3 separate regions of the Homo sapiens genome follow, and regions 1 and 3 are each linked to region 2. The links are contacts of gene promoters, found by promoter capture Hi-C in human tissues and cell types (Jung and others, 2019). All regions are on one chromosome and are shown on one strand. The core of a region is centred on a gene start or on the middle of the fragment in contact, and the rest is flanking DNA. Distances in the headings are between cores, read along the strand shown.

The links. Contacts are between HindIII fragments. The study calls those that stand out against the background at their distance.
Region 1: a contact is called between a fragment that was not itself captured here and the fragment with the promoter of CPSF4L in region 2, in 2 of the 25 tissues and cell types used here (lymphoblastoid cells and spleen).
Region 3: a fragment that was not itself captured here is called in contact with the fragment with the promoter of CPSF4L in region 2 in 1 of the 25 tissues and cell types used here (spleen).

The regions. Positions count from the first base shown.
Region 1 is chr17:73,399,756-73,403,071 of GRCh38, forward strand. SDK2 (sidekick cell adhesion molecule 2) reads right to left here. Exons shown (of 45, transcript NM_001144952.2): 19 at 2,191-2,386; 20 at 1,899-1,997; 21 at 1,265-1,456. Among named protein-coding and RNA genes, the nearest start is that of CDC42EP4, 89 kb to the left of the region's middle. RefSeq lists enhancers at 931-1,435, 1,436-1,939. The HindIII fragment of the contact is 9,787 bases long and covers 1-3,316 here.
Region 2 is chr17:73,260,084-73,263,456 of GRCh38, forward strand. It overlaps CPSF4L (cleavage and polyadenylation specific factor 4 like), which reads right to left and starts at 1,797. Exons shown (of 6, transcript NM_001129885.1): 1 at 1,633-1,797; 2 at 850-900. The coding sequence starts at 1,735. The HindIII fragment of the contact is 16,084 bases long and covers 1-3,373 here.
Region 3 is chr17:73,447,743-73,450,798 of GRCh38, forward strand. SDK2 (sidekick cell adhesion molecule 2) reads right to left here. Exons shown (of 45, transcript NM_001144952.2): 5 at 1-6. Among named protein-coding and RNA genes, the nearest start is that of SDK2-AS1, 64 kb to the right of the region's middle. The HindIII fragment of the contact is 3,268 bases long and covers 1-3,056 here.

The sequences.
Region 1 (3,316 bases), core at 537-3,036, 140 kb after region 2:
AAGCTTATTTTCTGGCCAGGAATCCTGGGGCTCTTGGAGCTCAGGAACAACAGAAAGAACACAGATTCTGGAGTCAGAATGAGTTTAAATCTAACTCCACTACTTACAGGCTGTGTGTCTTTGCACAAGTTATCCAACTCTCTGTGCCTCCATGTCCTCCTTGGTAATGAAGAGGATAATAGCAACACCTCCCTCAGGGTTGTTGTGAGGATTAAATGAGTCAACGTGAGCAAAGCTCCCAGCACCATGCCCCGTGAACACTACATACCTATTTGCCAGCATGGCTGTAATTATCACTGGGCTTTGGCTGAGACTCAGGCAGCCCAGCCATCTACGCAGCAGGTGGAGGGATGCTGGCAGGTCAAACAAGCACTGCCTGACTGATCTGGATGGGACCACATGGTTATCTGGTCCAACTTCCCATATATACAGATGGGGAAACTGAGGCACAGAGGGGACACAGAACTTGCTCAAGGTTGTAGGGCTTGGCAGAAGCAGAGCTGAGAGTGGACCTCGGCTTGCTCTCTGTGCCAGGCCTAGGAGTAGCCCCACCGTGCTCTGCCACCTCCCAACCAACCCTTCCACACGCTGGAATCCAAGGTGGACCCTCTGGGCGACAGTGGGAAATTTTCCCCTGAATCACAGATACCATTGCCTGGTGTGGAATCTGGTGAGAAATGGGTGAAGGGAGGGACTGGTGGGGAAATGAGACAAGGCAGGGGGCCTCTGCTTTTCTGAGAGCTGTGGGAGGATGCAGCAGGGAGCCAGGGGAGCCCCTGTCCAGAGACCTGGGATCCCAGGGATTCCGCCTGCTCTGAGGGGACCCAGACCCACACAGCACAAGGGAAGGGGAGAGCCTGTGGGAAGAACGCTGGTATTCCTGAAAGACAAGGGGCCTCTTTTTATTTTTTTTTTTGAGACGCGATGTGGCCCTGTCACCCAGACTGGAGTGCAGTGGTGTGATCTCGGCTCGCTGCAACCTCTACCTCCTGGGTTCAAGCGATCTTCCATCCTCAGCCTCCCAACTAACTGGGATCACAAGCATGCACCACCACAGCTGGCTAATTTTTGTATTTTTAGTAGGGTTTTACCACGTTGGCCAGGCTGGTCTCGAACTCCTGACCTCAAGTGATACGCCTGCCTCAGCCTCCCAAGGTGCTGGGACTACAGGCATGAGCCACCACGCCCAGCCGACAAGGGGCCTCTTGAATGGGACGCTGCTCAGGAGAACTCAAAGAGTCCTGCCTTGAGAGTGGGCACTTACCTGGGGGCACCCCAGAGGAGATGGTGGAGGCGGACACTTGGCCCTGGCCCTTTGAGGTCATGGCGGCCACCTCGATGGTGTAGGTGGTGAGCGCGGTGAGGCCCGTGACACGGTACTCCAGGGTCACGTTGGGCAGGTAGTGGGTCACACGGGTGTTGGTTCGATTGTACTCCTCCCAGGAGATCCGGTACCCTGGGGAGAGCCGCCGTGTTGGCATGAGCTTGGCTGTGATCACAAGTTGGCCTGACCCACTACTCCACTTCTCACTTCTCCACTAGGCTGGCAATTAGATCCACGCTGGGAGCAATGGGGCCAAGGGAGGTGGGAGCTGTTGGCATCATGCCCTGGGTCTCAGGTGTCGCCTCAGTGGGATGCCAGCACTTTAGGGAATTGCAGGGGACATAGTGAGTCATCATGGCAGCCACTGAGATCTGTGGCAGAAGGTGTGGGGCTGCAGACTCTGGGATGTGTTATGAAGTGGAGGTGCCAAGAGCCTCCTGTGAGTGGTTTCTAAGAAAGCATGGGTTGGCTTCAAGAGTTTGGGTGAAAAGTAGCTCAAAGGCAGGGGATGGACCAGCTCTGACCTTTCCCAGCCCTGTCCTGCCCTCTGGTTCAGAAACACTGCAGTGCCTACCTGTGAGGATGCCATTTTTCTCTCCCGGCTCTTGCCAGCTGACCTTCAGCGATGTGTCCAGGATCTCACTGAAGCTCAGGTGTCCCACGGGCCCAGGCACTGCACCCCAAAAGGAACCCCCACCCCCCAAGGCCAGTTAGAGCCAGAGAGAGACCACCATCTGTGAGATAGCCTGTGGTAATCTGGGGGTATCTCAGCCTGGGAGACAAGCCTGGGCCACCCTTCTGCCTGGGGCGCCCAGCCTGGCCTTGGGCGGGGGGGGGCAGAAAGAGCAGGGCTGGGGGGTGCCTACCATCCTCATGGGTGCGCACCAGCTGCGGGGTGCTGCGTGGCCCGTCCCCGGGGGTGGTGAAACACAGCACTGAGGTGAAGTACTCGGTGAACTTCTTCAGGCCAGACACGAAGCCCACGTGGATGCTGTCTTGAAAGTTAGGCCGGGCGGTCACCATGGTAACCTCCTCTTCCTGTTCCGGCTCCCAGGCGATCAGCTGCGGAGAGGCGAGCAAGTCACACAGGGCAGCAGGAAGGTTCCAGAGGAGGCCAAGCCCTCTCCCACAGGCTGGGCCAATCAACAGATGGTGTCCGGGGACCGGAGTCCCTGTGGTGCCTCCTCCGAGGGAAGGGACAGGCAGTGCAGGGAACCTGCGGGGTACTGGGGTTCACTTTGGGGCGCTTCTCCACTTCTTGAGCCACTGACTTTATGCAAAGCACCGTGCTGGGTGCTTCCCAGGAATCGCCTCGTACTCAATTCTCACAGAGACCCAGGAGGGAGGCATTTCACCAGGAACAGCTGCATAATTTGCAGGCTCAGTGCAAAATGAAAAATTTAGCCCTTGTTCAAAAACGACTAAGAATTTTAAGATGATAGCATCAGAGCATTTAACTAAGTGTGGGGTCCTTCCAAACGTGGGGCCCTGGACGACTGCACAGGTGGCACACCCATGAAGCCGGCCCTGTATTCCTTTTTTGAGATGGGGTCTCACTATGCTGTCCAGGCTGGAGTACAGCGGCATGATCACAGCTCACTGCAGCCTCAACCTCCTGGGCTAAAGCAGTCCTCCCACCTCAGCCTCCCAAAGTGCTGGGATTATAGGTGTAAGCCACTATGCTCGGCCCAGCCCTGTATTTTATTTTATTATTTATTTATTTATTTTTATTTTTTGAGACAGAGTCTTACTTTGTCGCCCAGGCTGCAGTACAGTGGCAAGATCTAGGCTCACTGCAACCTCTGCCTCCCGGGTTCAAGTGATTCTCCTGTCTCAGCCTCCAGAGTAGATGGGATTACAGACATGCACCACCATGCCCGGCTAATTTTTGTATTTTTAGTAGAGATGGGGGTTTCACCATGTTGGCCAGGCTGGTCTCGAACTCCTGATCTCAAGTGATCCGCCCGCCTCGGCCTCCCAAAGTGCTGGGAT
Region 2 (3,373 bases), core at 547-3,046:
GGAGAGAAGTGGAGGATGCTTTTTGATAGCATTTCAAAGATGGTGGCAGGTGCTACCTCAGGGCATAGGGAATGGATGAGACAATTGACCAGTTTACAAACTGAGTCAGAGCAGGGGACTGGGGGAGAAGGATGCCTCTCTTCTAGCTGGGAGGAAATCAAGAAAAACATTAAGAAGCTGGAGCCTCCTGGGAATGCACAGGCCAAAGCTCAGACACACGCCCATCCCAGCAAGGCAGAAAGAAAAAAATACCCCTTTCCAGGCAGCCTGGTTACCCTGATGCGAACTGCAAACTATGAAGACTGCTGCTGAGGCGGGAAAATCTTAGGGGAGGGGCAGGCTGCTCGGTGGATCCAACCACTTATCCTTTGTCTACCTGTAAGTCTAAAATTCTGCTCCATGGCCGGGCATGGTGGCTCACGCCTGTAATCCCAGCACTTTGGGAGGCCCAGGCAGGTGGATCACCTGAGGTGAGGAGTTTGAGACCCGCCTGGCCAACATGACAAAACTCCATCTCTACTAAAAATGCAAAAATTAGCCGGGCTTGGTGGCATGCACCTGTAGTTCCAGTTACTCGGGAGGCTGAGGAAGGAGAATCGCTTGAACCCAGGAGGCAGAGGTTGCAGTGAGTTGAGATCACGCCAGATCACTCTAGCCTGGGCAACAGAGCGAGATTCCATCTAAAAATAAATAAATAAAATAAAAATAAAATTCCGTTCCATCCCAATTTTCCCTCCCCAGGTGCAAATTCGACACCCTATCCCAGGCCAGGCAGAGCCCCTGCTGGGTGTAGCTCAGACAGACCCTACACTCACCCAGCTTGGGGCCCAGGCCTGTCTGCTAACTCACCTTTCTCACAGAGCCCTTTAGTGAAGAAGTTGCACACAGCTGAGGCCGACTCTGGAAGGAGAAGAGGGAACGGAGAAGGTAGCTTCCCCAGAGGCTGCAGCTGTTCCGGAAGCCTCCACCTCCATCGGCATGTCCCACCTAGACCTCCCCCAGGCTCTGGCCTATGGGATCCCAAATCTGGGCCCTGTAGAGGTTAACCTGCAGAGCCAGCCAGCAGACCTCAACCCTTAACCCCCCAACTCTGAAACAGAGGAGCTCGAGGGGCTCAAGCCTGGCCCAGGAGCTCGGGAGGCCAGTGTGGCTTCTCTCAATTCACCGTCTCTCTGTGCCTCTCTTTCTCAGTCTGGAAAATGGGTTGCCCCGAAGCCACAGAAGAGAGAGACAGAGAAGGGGCGGTCGCATCAGGGAGTTGAGCAGAGAGGCCTGTAGAGAAGGAAGGGGGAGGGAGGCTGGGCGTGGTGGCTCATGCCTGTAATCCCAGCACTTTGGGAGGCCAAGGCGGGCGGATCACGAGGTCAGGAGATTGAGACCATCCTGGCTAACATGGTGAAACCCGGTCTCTACTAAAAATACAAAAAATCAGCTGGGCGTGGTGGCGGGCGCCTGTAGTCCCAGCTCCTCGGGAGGCTGAGGCAGGAGAATGGCGTGAACCCAGGAGGCAGAGCTTGCAATGAGCCGAGATTGTGCCACTACACTCCAGCCTGGGCTACAGAGCGAGACTCCGTCTCAAAGAAAAAAAAACAGAGAAGGTAGGGGAGGGAAAGTGGCCCCACCCTCACTCACTGTCCATGCCCTGGAAAGGCAGGAGCCCAGTGCCCTTCTGCATCTCGACATCCTTCTCGAAGGCAAAGGTGAACCGCTCTAGCCCCGCAATGACCTCTTGCATCTTCCGTCTCCTGCTGGGGCTGCGGAAGCTGCTGGAACCCAGGCAGGTGGGCCCAATATAGCTCATCAGAGGCCCTTAAGGGGCCAGCGCCCAATGCCTCCCCCTTCACCCCAGGGTGCCAGTGGCCAGGTGACTGCAGGGGACGCTCCAGCCTGGGCTGTACAGGAGCAGGGCCCAGCTGCCTCACCCGGCCCACCCAGTGCAGGGGCAGACACCCCAGGGCCCCTCACCCCCACACTGTGTACACAAGGCTCACTCGGATAGGGAGGGATTCGCAGAGCCCCACAAACTGCTTATCTTTGCATGTTACCGAACACAAACGTGGCGTGCACACAGACATTACCAAACCTGGGCTCATACTTTGTCCATGAAGACACAGCCACAGGTTAGCAAAGAGTTGCACAAACCAACCGCAGCAAGGCTGTTATTCTGCCAGAGCTGGGGGTGGTGGGGGTTTGCAGAGGGAGGGAGCCGTCCCACCTCCCCGCTTCTTCCCATGAGGGAAGGGGTCTCCCTCTGGGGCCCCTGACACCCCTTTTCTGGCCTGAGTGACAAGCCCCGAGTGAGCTCTTCGTGGGAGACAGGGAAAAAGGAATGAAGAGGAGAGGAACTGAAACAGTTGGATGAATGGCGCTTTGTTTACCTCGCACACAATCGCCAGCTTGGCGGGAGGGCGGAACCGACCAAGGCCAGGGCGGCCTCCCAGCCAGGATTCCACAGGGCCACCCAGTGCCACCCCACCCCTGAGAAAGTGCTTTATAAATGAAATCTCTATGCAAATGTTGTTTTATTATTATTACACCACCCCTGCCTGCAGGGCTGGGGACATCTGACAATGCTTTCAAAGGAGCATGTTAGGGCTCTAATTAGACCAGGTTCCCCCTCCCCCTGCTCTGGCCCCAAACTGGCCTTGCCTCTAACTAGAGCTGCTGTTCTCAGTCACATTGGCTTTTAATGCCCATAGAACCAGAACCCATACGCCCTCCTTTCTGGGTGCCCAAACCCAGCAGGGAGAGGTGGGCAGCCCCGCAGGCTCTCAGCTGGGCCAACATGAACTAGCCTGCTGGCTGTTGTTCCCCGTGGCTGTTGCTCCTAGATCTGTTCTTTTGAACTCCAGATCAGAAAAGAAAATAGCTGGAGAGATAGACACCTGGAGCCGAGGTGGGACTGGGAGGAGCAGGGACGAGATCCAAGAGTTTCCAGAAGCTCAGGCCTCTGACTGCATCCTGGGAGAGGCAGAGGGACCCAGCTCCAGGGCTAGAGGGTGGGGCCAAGGGGGTCCCTGGGGTAGAAACCCTGGCTTCTCTTGGCCTTAGTTGTATGCGTTGATTAGTAGTCCCAAGAATGCATTCATCTGTCAACACAGGCTCATTAAAGGCTCACAGAAGCCTGGCAGCGCAGGCAGGACTGATGAGGGAATCAAAGCCCAGGGAGGCCAAGACCACATGGTTTGGGAGGCGCTATGGATGGGGTTCACATCTAGGTCTCTTGATGACTTCCTTCCCTAAACATCCCTGAGCATCTCTGCACTAGGGCCACGTCCCTATCCTCAGAGATGGCCCCATCAAGGAGGGGACATTAGCCATTCACACAATAATGCGATGGAGGCATGAGGGGCCCAGCAGGGCAGGAAGGGGT
Region 3 (3,056 bases), core at 263-2,762, 190 kb after region 2:
ATGGCTCTGGGAAGAGGAAAAGGATTCCTCTGACAGGGGCCTAAGGGGCTCTGAACCTCCAGGGAGTGGGAGTGGAAACCCTAAGGGGGAAGCCCGACCATATCTCCCAGTCCCCAGCCTCCCAGGGCCCCTCCTGCCACCCCCTCCCCAACCTCTTACTGCCTACATCCCGCCACGTTTAGTTTGCAGAGAATGCTAAACACGGTGCTGATGCTGTCAACCAGACCCAGAGACAGCACGTTCATGCCCAGACGCCGAGGCCACCCAAAGGAAGCTTCCCTGGCCCCTACCCCAAGACTGGGCAAGGGGCTTCCAGGTATCCCCTTGGAATTCTGCCCTTTCCCAGGTCACAGCCTCCATGGCTGTGTGTGGTTATTTCTGCATGATGTACATCCAGACACTGAAGAAATGTTCTCAGCATGGATTAGTGAATGTCGGTGAATGAATAAGTAAATGACAAATGAATGCTAATGAATTTAGAAATGCAGGGCCATTCCAGAGTCCATGCCTTAACCCTAATCCTAAATCTGTTCAGGATTGATGGACTCAAAGGCCACAGGTCACCTGGTGACATCAACTTCTGGAAGTCCTGTCTCCCTTCAGTCCCCTTTCTGGGTATCAGTTTCTACCTCTTTTTTTTTTGAGACAGTCTCGATCTGTTGCCCAGGCTGGAGTACAGTGGCATGATCTTGGCTCACTGCAGCCTCTGCCTCCCGGGTTCAAGCGATTCTCCTGCCTCAGCCTCCCGAGTAGCTAGGACTACAGGTGCGCGCCACTACCCCTGGCTAATTTTTTGTATTTTTAGTAGGGACAGGGTTTCACTTTGTTAGCCAGGATGGTCTCGATCTCCTGACCTTGTGATCTGCCCGCCTTGGCCTCCGAAAGTGTTGGGATTACAGGCGTGAGCCACTGTGCCCAGTCTTTTTTTTTTTTTTGAGACAGAGTTTTGCTCTTGTTACCCAGGCTGAAGTGCAATGGTACGATCTTGGCTTACTGCAACCTCCGCCTTCCCGGTTCAAGTGATTTTCCTGCCTCAGCCTCCTGAGTAGCTGGGATTACAGGTGCATGCCACCACACCCGGCTAATTCTTATATTTTTAGTAAAGACAGGGTTTTGCTATGTTGGCCAGGCTGGTCTCAAACTCCTGACCTCAAGTGATCTGCCTGCCTTGGCCTCTCAAAGTACTGGGATTACAGGTGTGAGCCACTGTACCCAGCTGGAGTTTCTACCTCTTTGAAGCTCATAACCAAGAGTGGGACTAGGTGGGCTGGTTAGGAGGGAAAAAGAGGCTGGTGTGTTTTGGGGTGTGGTGATGGGCTGTTTACCTCAGCTGGTTTCCTTTGCTGGGATCCCATCATGCAGCCCCTTCTCAGGCCAGGTCTTCTGGCAGGGAAAAGGGGCTTGTCCAAGCAGGAAGCTGGAGGCTCCATGGAATGTGGGTGCAATGGAGCCAGAAGCGCCACCCACACCGGCTCTTCCTCCCTCCACCCATTCTCCCAATGACAAACAAAGCCATTAGTTTGTCAAGTATATCTCTGGATTTTAATGCGATGGGCCTGAGACAGCTGTTAAACATCCTTAATGTTAGTTTAACAAGGACAAATCCAGTTGAATTCTTTTCAAATTTTCCCATTAGGTGAATGTTACAGAGTTTTAAACAGGCTCTCAAATAAACATCCCCACTAATGCTTCTCCAGCCCAGCACTCTCCCAGCCCGGCTGTGCTGGTTTTCGCCCCACTCTCTCCTGGTTTTGGTGCTTCACATGCTGAGAATCACACTCTTGGCACAGCTCTGGGAAGCAGGAAGCCAAGCCCTCCTGCCCCCAATTCCTGGGTACCCTAATGATGCCCCCCCACCTCTTTTTTTTTTTTTTTTTTTTTTTCTGGAGAGCTCTTGGCTGGGCACAGTGGCTCACGCCTGTAATCCCAGCATTTTGGGAGGCTGAAGTAGGTGGATCACCTGAGGTCGGGGGTTCGAGACCATACTGACCAATATGGAGAAACCCTGTCTCTACTAAAAATACAAAATTAGCCGGGTGTGGTGGTGGTGCATGCCTGTAATCCCAGCTACTCGGGAGGCTGAGGCAGGAAAATCGCTTGAACCTGGGAGGCAGAGGTTGCGGCCAGCCGAGGTCGCACCGTTGCACTCCAGCCTGAGCAACAGAGCGAAACTCCATCTCAAAAAAACAAAACAAACAAACAAACAAAAAAACAAGAAACAAAAAACAGGAGAGTCCTTTTAACCTCCAGCTAATGAGGCAATAGGAGGTGGGGCCAGAGCCAGGCGAAAATATTTCAAAAGCTTAAAATAAGACAGGGATAGTGGTCATTTTCCCACCTGAGAGTTTCCTGCAGGGACTTGTCCTTAGGTATAGCATGTGAGGGTGGCTGAGAGTTGGAGGAGGGGTCCTCCCCGTGCAGGGCTCTGGCTGGGGCACGGGGTGAGCTCTGGAATGGAGCTCTGGCCCTAGCCTCTAAAGGGCATGCAGCTTCCTCCTTGCTGGGCCTCAGTTTCCTCCTCTGTGCAGGGGTGGAAGCAGGTATTCTGTGAGATTTCTTCCAGCCCAGAGGTTGAAGGATTCTGATTCCTGTTGCTGCTTCTGTTGTTTCCTCATTAGGCCCAAGATAGCCCTGCAGCCCGCCACCTGTCTCTTCCCACCCCGCAGACCGGGACATGGCCAGCTTCAGGGCTGACAGGATTTTCATGAGCACTATGTGCCGGGACCATGCCGGCCCAGCTCCCCCAGCCACGCCACATCCATGACTATCATAGAAGCAGCTTCAAGCCTCCAGTGGGCACACTGGGCACAGCTTGGCCCACGTTCCAGTTCACCCACCTGTCTTAGGACCCTTTTGGTCTCCAAGAAGGCTCCCACCTCCAATTTCATCTCTTTCTTGATCAGGAAGGCTCCTTTCACTGTATTTTGTCTATATCATGATCAAGCTTTCTGGGTCAGTGGTTCTCAACCAGGGTTGACTTTGCCCTCCAGGGATGACAATGTCTGGACAACTTTTGGTTGCCAGCTCGGGGAGCGCCACTAACAATAGGGGTCAAG